Regions from separate parts of the Homo sapiens genome. Here all the other regions are linked to region 2. Evidence: promoter capture Hi-C in human tissues and cell types (Jung and others, 2019). All regions are on one chromosome and are shown on one strand. The core of a region is centred on a gene start or on the middle of the fragment in contact, and the rest is flanking DNA. Distances in the headings are between cores, read along the strand shown. Region 1 overlaps ACSS2 (acyl-CoA synthetase short chain family member 2). Region 2 holds the start of ERGIC3 (ERGIC and golgi 3). Region 3 has its middle 11 kb from the start of NORAD.

Region 1 (3,744 bases), core at 446-2,945, 650 kb before region 2:
ACTACCTATTATCTCTTTTTGGGATATAAAGTTTTTAGAACAGCCCTCTTCTAGGGTTCTAAGGTCTGGTCTACTTATGGTTTTACTATCATGGTTTATTATCATGGTTACCTTATGGTTTTACCATCTTGGAGCATCATTATTTTATTTAAATAAAATAAATACAACCCTGAAACTATTCACCCTGGAATACTTTACACACAGAGTTGCCCGTACAGAAAACATCTCTAGAGCATATGAACACCTGCATTTCTAAGTGTGATTTTTTTGACCAGAGACTAATTTTTGAAACCAACGTTTGCTTCTTTTTGACCATGATATTTTAATACATGAAAATCTATCCAAAGGAGCAGTCACAGAGGGTTCTTGTTGAACTTTAGTTTCTGAGCTGCTTTTGAGGATGGTTACTTGAGGTGTCCTCCAAACTGCCACATATAGTGAGTTAGAGAATCTGCCAGGCACAGTGGCTCATGCCTGTAATCCCAGAACTTTGGGAGACTGAGGAGGGAGGATCACTGAACTCAGGAGTTTGAGATCAGCCTGGGCAACACAGGTAGACCCCATCTCTATAAAAAATTTTAAAATTAGGCCAGGCGTGGTGGCTCACACCTGTAATCCCAGCTACTCGGGTGGCTGAGGCAGGAAAATCGATTGAACCTGGGAGGCAGAGGTTGAAGTGAGCCAAGATCATGCCACTGCACTCCGGCCTGGGTGACAGAGTGAGACTCTGTCTCAAAAAATAATAATAATAAATAAAAAATTAGCTGGGTATGGTCATGCATGCCTGTGGTCCCAGATATTTGGGAGGCTGAGGTGGGAGGATTTCTTGAGCCTGGGAGGTTGAGGCTGCAGTGAGCGGTGATCGTGCTACTGCACTCCAGCCTGGGTGAGACCCTGTCTCAAAAAAGAAGTTAGGGAGTCCTAATACAACATCTGGATTTGTTAAAAATCTGTCTAGTTGTTTTCATATGATGGGAAACAAACTGACAGAAATCTAATTTTATTTATATGGATAGCCATGCTGTACTTGCTAAGACCACAAGAATAGGCTCAGAGAGAGGGGAAAGTTTGTGTAAATTATACATTGAATTAGGGGTAAACAATCTAGTCTGATGACTCCATATTCAGAGCCAGGGTTTCCCAATTTTAGTTTATGTAAATAATTACCTGAGGATGTCGTTAGAAATCCAGATTTCTGGACCCTATCCCAGACTATTGAGTTAGAATCTCCAGAGGATAAGACCTCTGACTTGTATTTTTGTAACCTCCTCAGACAATTCTGATGTTGGGGGGAGGGACAAAGTACCATTGAAAAATTATTTAGATTAATAACCTTAAACTCTTAAAATTATATACCTAAAAGAATTTTGAAAAATTATGTAACTCTTGACATAATGTTCATATCTAAAAATTTTATCATAAGATTTAAAAATTGCAAAAAATCGAATTTCCAAAACATTTTACATATTATATACACACATATATATATATGCACATATAGGTTATACCTCTTTCAAAACATTGGCACTGCAAATTTAGCTCATATAATTTATAGAAGACATCTACCATACAACCTGTTTTGCATAGCCAGTTATCACCCAACATAATCAGCCAAATCAGATCTACTGTGTTAGAAATTGCCTAACTTCTTTCTTAAGATAAATATGTTAATATATGACTCTGTGATAACTGTTTCACTTCTGAGTTGTAATTCTAAGAGATATAAGGCAAGTAGTCTTGCCATGAGTTTGTTACGTGGATGAATTAAGATGCCAATTCTTTCAATACTGATTTCTCAGAGAAGCTCTCATTGATTTGCTTTCTTGGGGCTCTCCCTCAGAAGTTATACATTCTCAAATTGTCCCTTTGTTTAACACTTTGTTCATACCCTGTCATTGTACCATAATAAAGTTTGAGATAAGAGAGAGCTATGACATTCTTGTTTAACGTGGGAGAAGGGTAATTGTAAAAGAGAGTGAGAAAGAAGAACCAACTCAGACAGATCATTGTTAGGAAATATTACATATGGAAGTTGAGGATCTAGACATTTATTCTCTTCATATTTTTCTGTGCAGGTACTCACAGGAATAGAGTACCGTAGATTGAGGACTAATGATTTAAACTGCCTTTGACCTAGATAATAGAGAACCATTGTAATGAATATTTTTGCATGTGTCTATTATACTTGAGAGACTTGATGTACACATAAAATGATGCCCCTGGATTTTCTTTCCACTTTCTGTTTCTGCTCTAGGCATATTCCTCTTTTGGGCTGCATTCCAAATGCTCTGCCCTCATTCACTTGTTATAGGTAAGGCCAGCATGGGACACAGGATGGTAGGAACAAGTGTGTGATTCCCCTCCTGTAAGTAGGCATGTAGGCAGTGAGAAAAGAGAAGAGGTACACAATCCATCGGGCACCAAAGCCACTTTGGCCAAGGGGAACATGCAAAAGGTATTTGGATCAAGGCCTGAAAATAGCTGGCAAGAGGACAGGGTACAATAATAGCCCAGACTGCAGGGCAGGAGTCCCATACTCTGAACCTCAGCTCCAGGGTTCTCTTCCAGCCTCTTCACAGAGTCCCAGACTGAGCCCACTGTAGGATCTCAAGAAACACTTCTTGACATGATTCCAAAATCCATTCCACAAATTCCACTCTTGTCTTTCCTCTGCCTGTCCAGCATCTATCTTGTTTATCTGTATCCTATCTTATCCCCTCTCCTTCCATACTTTCTCTCTTTGATCATCTTGGATCCAGCTGGTCATATAAGCAGAGATAAGTTTGTTCATTTATTTATTCATTCTTTTATCTATTCATTTTACAATTATGTATTAAGTGCTCACTGTGTATTGGCCTTTGTGGTAAGCACTAAGGAGAAAACATATAAAAAGATATCCTGTCTGCCATTAAGGAACTCATAATCCAGTGAGGGAAACAGATGTCTACATAGGACTCTAGTGCTAGAAAAAAATAAGTGCCCAAGTGTTGTCTTTAGAAATAAACAGGCTGGGCGTGGTGGCTCACGCCTGCAATCCTAGCACTTTGGGAGGCCAAGGCGGGCGGATCACTTGAGGTCAAGAGCCTGGCCAACATGGTGAAACCCTGTCTCTACTAAAAATATAAAAATTAGCCTGTGGTGGCGGGGGCCTGTAGTCCCAGCTACTCGGGAGGCTGAGACATAAGAATTGCTTGAACCCGGGAGGCGGAGGTTGCAGTGAGCCGAGATAGCACCACTGCACTCCAGCCTGGGCAACAGAGCTAGACTGTCTCAAAAAAAGGAAAAAAAAAAATAGAAAGAGGCAAGAATGAATGAATGAATAGTGCTTAATCTTTCTAATGAATGAATAGTTACAACCTTTCTGGAAAGGAAGGTTTGTAAAGATGTCTGTATTTTCCAAATTAATCTGTACATTTATTGCAATTCCAATCAAAATTGCAATTATATTTTTTATTGAGATATAATTTATACCATATAATTCACCCATTTAAAGTATACAATTCATATTTTTAATATATTTGCAAAGGTGTACAACTTTCAATTTTAGAAAATTTTCATCACCCCCAAAAGAAGTGCAATACTCATTAGCAGTCATTTTTCATTTTCCCCCAACTTCTTCTCCTCCAGCTCTAGGCAACCACTAATCTACTTTCTGTCTCTAAGGCTCTGCCTTATTCTGGATGTTTCATATAAATGGAATCATATAACACGTGGCCCTTTGTGTCTGGTTTCTTTCACTAAGCA
Region 2 (3,754 bases), core at 1,162-3,661:
TGCACACACACAAAGAGAGAGAGAGAGACTCGCTCTGTCGCCCAGGCTGTAGTGCAGTGGTGTAATCACAGCTCACTATGAGGCAGGAGAACAGGGAATCAGGGTAACCGGGGGTTAAGACATAAGCAAATGAAGGGGTGCAGCCAGTTCTAGGCAGCATACAGGCCACATCTTCAATCCTATGATAACGAGACAGAAGTTTCCACTTCCGCCTCCGATTGACCGTGGGGCCAAATCTCCACTTCAGCCTCTGATTGGCTGTGGGCCAAGTCTCCACTTCAGCCTCTGATTTGGTCGCAGGCCAATCCTTCATAGGTGTAGCCAACTGGAGGCTTCTAAAGGGCACCTAGGGGTGTTGCCAGGTCCCTTTAGCTTAATACAAACCCTGATTGAGGAGGCTCTTGAGCAGCTTGCTCTAACCAGCTGCCGCTATGAATCGTCTTCAATAAATCTATGCTTTTGTTATTCCGTTCTTCTGTTGCTGTTTGTCTTTCGTTGCCCTTCTGTTACTTTATGTGTTTTGTTCAACACGCCAAGAACCTGGACAACTCTATGCTGGTAACAACTGCAGGTAACCTGGTAACAACTGCAGTTTCAAACTCTCCTGGGCTCAACCCCAGCCTCCCAGGTAGCTGAGACTATAGACGCATGCCACCACACCTGGCTAATTTTTTTATTTTTATTTTTATTTTTGGAGACAGAATCTCACTCTGTCGCCCAGGCTGGAATGCAATGGCATGATCTCGGCTCACTGCAACCTCCGCCTCCCAGGTTCAAGCGATTCTCCTGCCTCGGACTCACAAGTAGCTGGGTTTACAGGAGCACACTACCACGCCTGGCTAATTTTTGTATTTTTAGTAGAGATGGGGTTTCACCATGTTGACCAGGCTGGTCTCAAACTCCTGAACTCAAGTGATGCTTCCTGGCTCGGCCTCCTGAAGTGCTAGGGTTACAGATGTAGTTTTTAAAGTTTTTGTAGAGTGGGGTCTTGCTGTGTTGCCCAGGCTGGTCTTAGACTCCTGGCCTCATGTGATCCTCCTCGGTCTCCCAAAGTGCTGTGATTACAGGTGTGAGCCATTGTGCCCAGCCCAATTTTTAATTAAAAAATGGAATGATGGAATGCACATTACTTTGCATCTTTTCCCCCTTAAAAATACATTCTTAGTATACCTAAAGGAGTAAATCTACCTCATTCTTTTGAAAAGTGGCCTAATATTCCATAGAATGGGTGTATCGTGATTTATTCAATTTATTTAATGTATCAGTGGGCATTCTGGCTGGTTCCAGATTTTTGCCATTGAACAATCTCATGCATACATCTTTATGATGTGGTGCACTTAAAATCTTTAAGAGACAGATTCAATATCTTAAGGTGTAACAACCACCCAGATCATGGTACTTTTATCCTTATATTAAAATTTTTTTCTGTTAACCTTGGATAGCTGCTTACATATTTTTTCTTTTTCAAAATTTTTCTATTAACCTTGACATGGTGCTTTTACTTCCTAAAGTGGAATTCCTGTATGAAAGCCTATGAGCTTTTATATCTTACTCATTGCAGCTGCATTACTGTGGGAGCTGTCCCTCTAGAGACACTGGGCTGCAATGGGAAGTGTCAGGGAGAGCTTAAGCTCCATATCACTTGAGTCTAAACCTGGAGGGATAGAGCGTGTCCGTGAGGATCCCAGGGCCTGGAGAGCAATTTAGGGTAATATTCAGAAAGCAGCGCTCAGGAGAAGCACTGGGACGCTGTTTAGGTAAAATCAACCCAAAAGACCCTGATTCCCAGAGTACTTTGAGGTCCAGAAGAACTGGGCTGGAAGCAGGTCCTGCTATTAATTGGCTGTGATCTTGGGCAAGTTATTTAACTTCTCCAGGTCACAGTTTGCTCTTTGGAAAACGGAGATAAGTCACACCTGCTTTCAGGGCGGACACCCTTACTTTACATCAGAATCATCCGATGCCATTCCTAGCGTTTCGGCTTCAGTAGGTGGGAATCAATTATTTGCATTTCTAATAGGTAATCAGTTGATAATGATGCGGCCGGTCCGGTACACTCGAAAAACCACTGTTCCAGGATATTCCAAGATGTTCCAAGAGTCTTAAACACCTGGTGCAGTTCCGAGCACAAGGCACACGAACGGTGCTATTAGCGTTTCTAACCCCGCAGAGAACTCCTCGCACCCCAGTCCTCAAAATCCCGCCCCGGACAGCGGAGGCCGGGGCAGTAGCTTCCAGACCCAATTGCCCGCGCAAGGGGGCGTGGCAGCATCGTTGGGCGGGGCCGCCTGTAAGAGAACGCGGCTAAAGGTGGGGCCAAGCGTGCGGTTTGCTGCGCCTGCGTGAGGAAAAAGAGGGGGGCGTGGCTCCAGGCCGGAAGAGGGAGTCTGTAGGGGCGGGCCGGCTGGCGTCCCCTTTCCGGCCGGTCCCCATGGAGGCGCTGGGGAAGCTGAAGCAGTTCGATGCCTACCCCAAGACTTTGGAGGACTTCCGGGTCAAGACCTGCGGGGGCGCCACCGGTAGGCCGCAGCGGGGCCGGGGTCGCGTGGAGGGGGGCGTCCTAGAGCTTAGCCCGGGCTCCTGGACTCTGACTGGCCTGCCGGTGTCTGAGGGAGCGGATTCGAGGCCATTCTGACCCTCGCCCCTTGTCCTGCAGTGACCATTGTCAGTGGCCTTCTCATGCTGCTACTGTTCCTGTCCGAGCTGCAGTATTACCTCACCACGGAGGTAAGGGGCGGGGCTTAGTGCGTGGGCGGGGCTTGGCATTCTAGGAGTAGGACCTTTAGGGGTGGGAGTGGGGAAGGAGAGGTTTGGGGCTAAGTCTTACTGAGGTAGCGCTGCCCCAGGTGCATCCTGAGCTCTACGTGGACAAGTCGCGGGGAGATAAACTGAAGATCAACATCGATGTACTTTTTCCGCACATGCCTTGTGCCTGTGAGTACCTCACCATGGGTGGGACTGGAGAGACCCAGGGTTCTCATGTGGGCTGCCAGATTCACACCTCCACCCTTAGGTTCTGGACTGGACCCCAGGACAACCTCCTTCTCCTCATCCCGTTCTGCCCCAAGACAGGCCCAGTATCCCCTTCCCCTCCAAAACCCACATCCCCTTGTCCCTAGGGTCCCAGTACCTTAGCCTGATTTTCCTGCTTCCAGATCTGAGTATTGATGCCATGGATGTGGCCGGAGAACAGCAGCTGGATGTGGAACACAACCTGTTCAAGCAACGACTAGATAAAGATGGCATCCCCGTGAGCTCAGAGGCTGAGCGGCATGGTAACCAGGGGAGGGGGCCGGGTCTCAGATCCCAAAGCTGGATGTACCCAAGCCTATCTGCTAGCAAGTGAACTGTGGCAGGCATAGTGATACATTAAACAACTAAGAGCTAGAGAAGTCAAGTGACTTGCCTAGGGTCCCCCAGCTAGTAAGAGTCAGAGTGAGCTAAAATCCTCTATACATATCGAGTCAGGTAATCTACCTGGCTATTATTCTCAGAGGTCCTCAATACCTGCAGATGGTAGTTTGAATACCAGAGGTTTGAAGATAGGTCTTATGTGCTCTTGCCTTGGTAGAACTGTCTAGATGGACCCAGGCTTCTTTGAGTGTTTGCTTTCCCAGCCCATTGGCTTAATTCAGCCCTTAATGCTCTTCCCCTTTGGAATGCAGGTGGTTTAATGAGAATTTAGGTTCTCAAGTCAGATTGCCTGGGTTCACATCTAGCTTTGTCTCCTGCAGTCTGTGAGCTTCAGCTAGAA
Region 3 (3,689 bases), core at 71-2,570, 520 kb after region 2:
GTAGGTAGATACAACCCCTTCAGGTTGTGGAGCTTAATTCTCCCATTGAGTGTGGGCTGCACTTAGTAACTTGCTTCCAAAGAGTGGAAAGGGAGGAAAAACAAGCAACTTCCCAGGGGAGAAACTGGACAGACACTCGCTTGGCCAGGTAATCAAGTCATGTCGCTAACATGTATCCTGATGAAGTCATGTCAATAACATGTACCTATGATTTGATGAGAAGAGCAGTTTACCTCTATGACATGTTTCCCCAAACTCATAACCCCAGTCTAACTATGAGAAAAGCATCAGATGAACCCAAATTGAGGGGCACTCTGTAAAATACCTGTCCAGTACTCCTCAAAGCTGTCAAGGTCTTAAAAACCAAGAAATGCCTGAGTAATTGTTACAAGCCAGAAGAAACTAAAGGGACATGATGACTAAATGTAGTGTGGTGTCCTAGAAGGGACTCTGGAGCAGAAAACAGGTGGAATTTAGTTCATAGGAATGTACCAGTGTTGGTTTCTTAGTTGTGACAAATGCCATAGTAATGTAAGGTGGTAATAATAGGGGAAGCAGGGTGAGGGCTATACAGGAACTCTCTGTACTCTTGAGTATGATGGTTAAGTTCATGTGTCAACATGGAGGGTGGTTTTGGATGATATTAGCATTTAAATGGTTGAACTTGGGTGTGGGCGGGCCTCATTTGATCAGTTGAAGGCCTGAATAAAACAGAAAGACTGGCCTCCCTAAGCAAGATGGAATTCTCCGGCAGGCTGCCTTCAAACTGCACCATTGGCTCTCCTGGGTCATCAGCCTGCAGGCCCACACTGTGGGATTCGGGCTTGCCAGCCTTCATAATTAGGTAAGCCAATTCTTTATGATAAATCTCTTTTATGCACACACACACCGTATTGGTTCTCTTTCTCTGGTGAGCCCTAACACAATGGGAAATTTCTGTACTCTAAATCAAAGACTTACATTTATTTTCTGTAAATGTAAAATTATTTTAAAATAATAAGTTTATTTTAAAAAGAGAGAAGGCTGGGTGCGGTGGCTCATGCCTATAATCCCAGTACTTTGGGAGGCCGAGGTGGGTGGATCACCTGAGGTTGGGAGTTTGAGACCAGCCTGGCTAACATGGTGAAACCCCATCTGTACTAAAAATACAAAAATTAGCCAGGCGTGGTGGCGCATGCCTGTAATCCCAGCTACTTGGAAGGCTGAGGCATGAGAATTACTTGAATCCATGAGGCAGAGGTTGCAGTGAGCCGAGATCACGCCACTGCACTCCAGCCTGTGCAACAGAGCGAGACTCTGTCTCAAAATAAATAAATAAATAATAAAAAGAGAAAAAAAGAGGCATGAATTTTGAAGTCATGTAGATCCATTTATTTGTTTCCTGTGGGTGCCAAAACAAATTACTACAAGCCTGGTAGCTTAAAACAACAGAAATTTATTCTCTCATAGTTCTGGAGGCCATAAATTGAACATGAGTTTCACTGAGCTGAAGTCAATGTGTTGGCAAGGCTGTATTCCCTCCAGATGCTCTGGGGAAGAATCCGTCTGCCTCTTCCAACTTCTGGTGGCTGCCAACAATCCTTGGCTTGTGGCCACATCAGTCTCTGCCTCCATGGTCACATTGCTTCCTCTTCTTCTGTGTGTGTTGGTCTAATCTTCCTTTCCCTCTCTCTTATAAGGATATGTGTGATGGAATTTAGGGCCCACTTGGCTAATCCTCAATGATATCCTCATCTCAACATTCTTAATCACATCTGCAAAAATTATTTTCTCAAATAAAGTAATGTTTACAGTAGTTTCCAGAGATTAGGACTTGATATATTTGGGTGGCCATTATTCAGCCTACTACACCCTGGCTGTGTGAAATGTAGGACTTTTGTAGTATGAGTAAGCCGGCTCTATACTTAAAAATAAAAACTATGACATAACCTGGTTTTAAAAAATGTTCATCTGGGTTCCACCTGAAATCATCGTATTATGACCACTAGTGAGGTAGGAGGCAGGACTCGAGTCTGGAGGTGGGGTTCAGACACTGGACCAAATTGAGGACTAGCTAAAGCAGGGATGGGGTAGAAGAAGCTTTCCATAAGACATGCCCACCAGTGTGCCATGCCAGTTTACCATTGCCATGGCAACACTCAGAGGTTACTGCCCTTTCCATGGTAGTGACCCAAGACCAAGAAGTTACCACCTTTTTCCTAGAAATTTCTGCATAATCTGCCCCTGAATTTGCATGTAAATAAAAGTGGGTATAAATATGACTGCAGAACTGCGTTTGAGCTGCTACTCTAGGCACACTGCCTATGGGGTAACCCTGCTCCACAAGAAGCAGTACGTCTGCTGCTGCCGAACACTGCCACTTCAATAAAAGTTACTATCTGACATCACTGACTTACCCTTGAATTCTTTCAAGTCAAGAACCCTCCTGGGCTAAGCCCCAATTGGGATCACCTGCCCTGCCTTGGTGGGACCCAAGCCACACTTTGCCAAACAGTGTAAGAGATTGGTCTTAGAGGTCAGAGAGTTCTACATTCTAACTCTGGCAAGCCTGTGACTTTGGTTAAGTCAACATATTCCTTGAAGACTATCTCTTCATCTGTACAAGAGGACACTAGCCCTGACTCAGAGGAATGCTGTCAGAACTCCTGCAGACTGTGAAACAGATGCACAACAAATGATCAGTCACATTCTCCTCCCCCTCCATTTTATAGTTTGTTACACTTCACAAAATATTTTCTACATACAATAATGTTTGATCCCCATAAAATGTGTGAGATAAAGCCAAACGTTTCCTTCTCAGATGGAGAAACTGAGACTTGATGTCAACTGACTTAGCCAACTTTGCCTAACTAGAAGACTAGAAGCAGTGGGTGTCTGAGAGCATAGTCAGCAGAAGCAAAGAGGCAGATGCCCCCCGGAGATGGGGCAGGTTTGCTGATCTGGCATTTGATTTTTTTTTTTTTTTTTTTGAGAGGGAGCTTCACTCTGTTGCCCAGGCTGGAGTGCAGTGGCGCAATTGCGACTCACTGCAACCTCTGCCTCTCAGGCTCAAGGTGATTCTCCTGCCTTGGCCTCCTGAGTAGCTGGGATTACAGGCACCCACCACTACACCCGGCTAGTTTTTGTATTTTCAGTAGAGACAGGCTTTCACCATGTTGGCCAGACTGCTCTTGAACTCTTGACTTCAAATGATCCACCCACCTCGGCCTCCCAAAGTGCTGGGATTACAGGCATGAGCCACTGTGCCCGGCCTGATTTTTTTTTCCATGATTTTCATTACCTTTCTGTCCCCGGTAGGCATTTGAGTTTATGATCCATGATATGTTCCTAACTCTGGTTCACACTGCTATAACTTGATCATAGACTTTTGGACTTGAAGCTGTAATACTCCTGGGGTTCCCCAGTGACAGCCCACCCAGTTTTCCAGTGGCTTCTTGGCCCTGGCTTCTCTGATCTCACAGGCTTCCCCTTCTTCTAAATATTGCAAGGCAAACCCATAGTTTGTCCTCTGGTTTGACCAGGTTCTTGGTTCTGATAGCCCCTTATTCTGAGCCTTCCAGGCAGAGACTCCTACAGGACTCTGCCACCTCAGGACCCAGCATAGGGCTGGGTGTCCTGAAGGTCTGCTAAGGGGACTCATGCTGAGCCTTCGGAAGGTCACAAGGAGAGAACAGAGGGTGGGCTGAGGG

The links. The method cuts DNA at HindIII sites, captures the fragments that hold promoters and counts their contacts. A contact is called where the count stands out against the background at its distance.
Region 1: a contact is called between a fragment that was not itself captured here and the fragment with the promoter of ERGIC3 in region 2, in 1 of the 25 tissues and cell types used here (adrenal gland).
Region 3: a fragment that was not itself captured here is called in contact with the fragment with the promoter of ERGIC3 in region 2 in 1 of the 25 tissues and cell types used here (spleen).

What each region holds. Positions count from the first base shown.
Region 1 is chr20:34,893,756-34,897,499 of GRCh38, forward strand. The region is part of intron 2 of ACSS2 (acyl-CoA synthetase short chain family member 2); the gene reads left to right. Among named protein-coding and RNA genes, the nearest start is that of ACSS2, 19 kb to the left of the region's middle. The HindIII fragment of the contact is 9,741 bases long and covers 1-3,744 here.
Region 2 is chr20:35,539,667-35,543,420 of GRCh38, forward strand. ERGIC3 (ERGIC and golgi 3) reads left to right here and starts at 2,412. Exons shown (of 13, transcript NM_015966.3): 1 at 2,412-2,519; 2 at 2,657-2,727; 3 at 2,847-2,934; 4 at 3,156-3,275. The coding sequence starts at 2,432. RefSeq lists an enhancer at 2,084-2,173. The HindIII fragment of the contact is 35,337 bases long and covers 1-3,754 here.
Region 3 is chr20:36,060,384-36,064,072 of GRCh38, forward strand. No RefSeq gene overlaps it. Among named protein-coding and RNA genes, the nearest start is that of NORAD, 11 kb to the left of the region's middle. The HindIII fragment of the contact is 8,994 bases long and covers 1-3,689 here.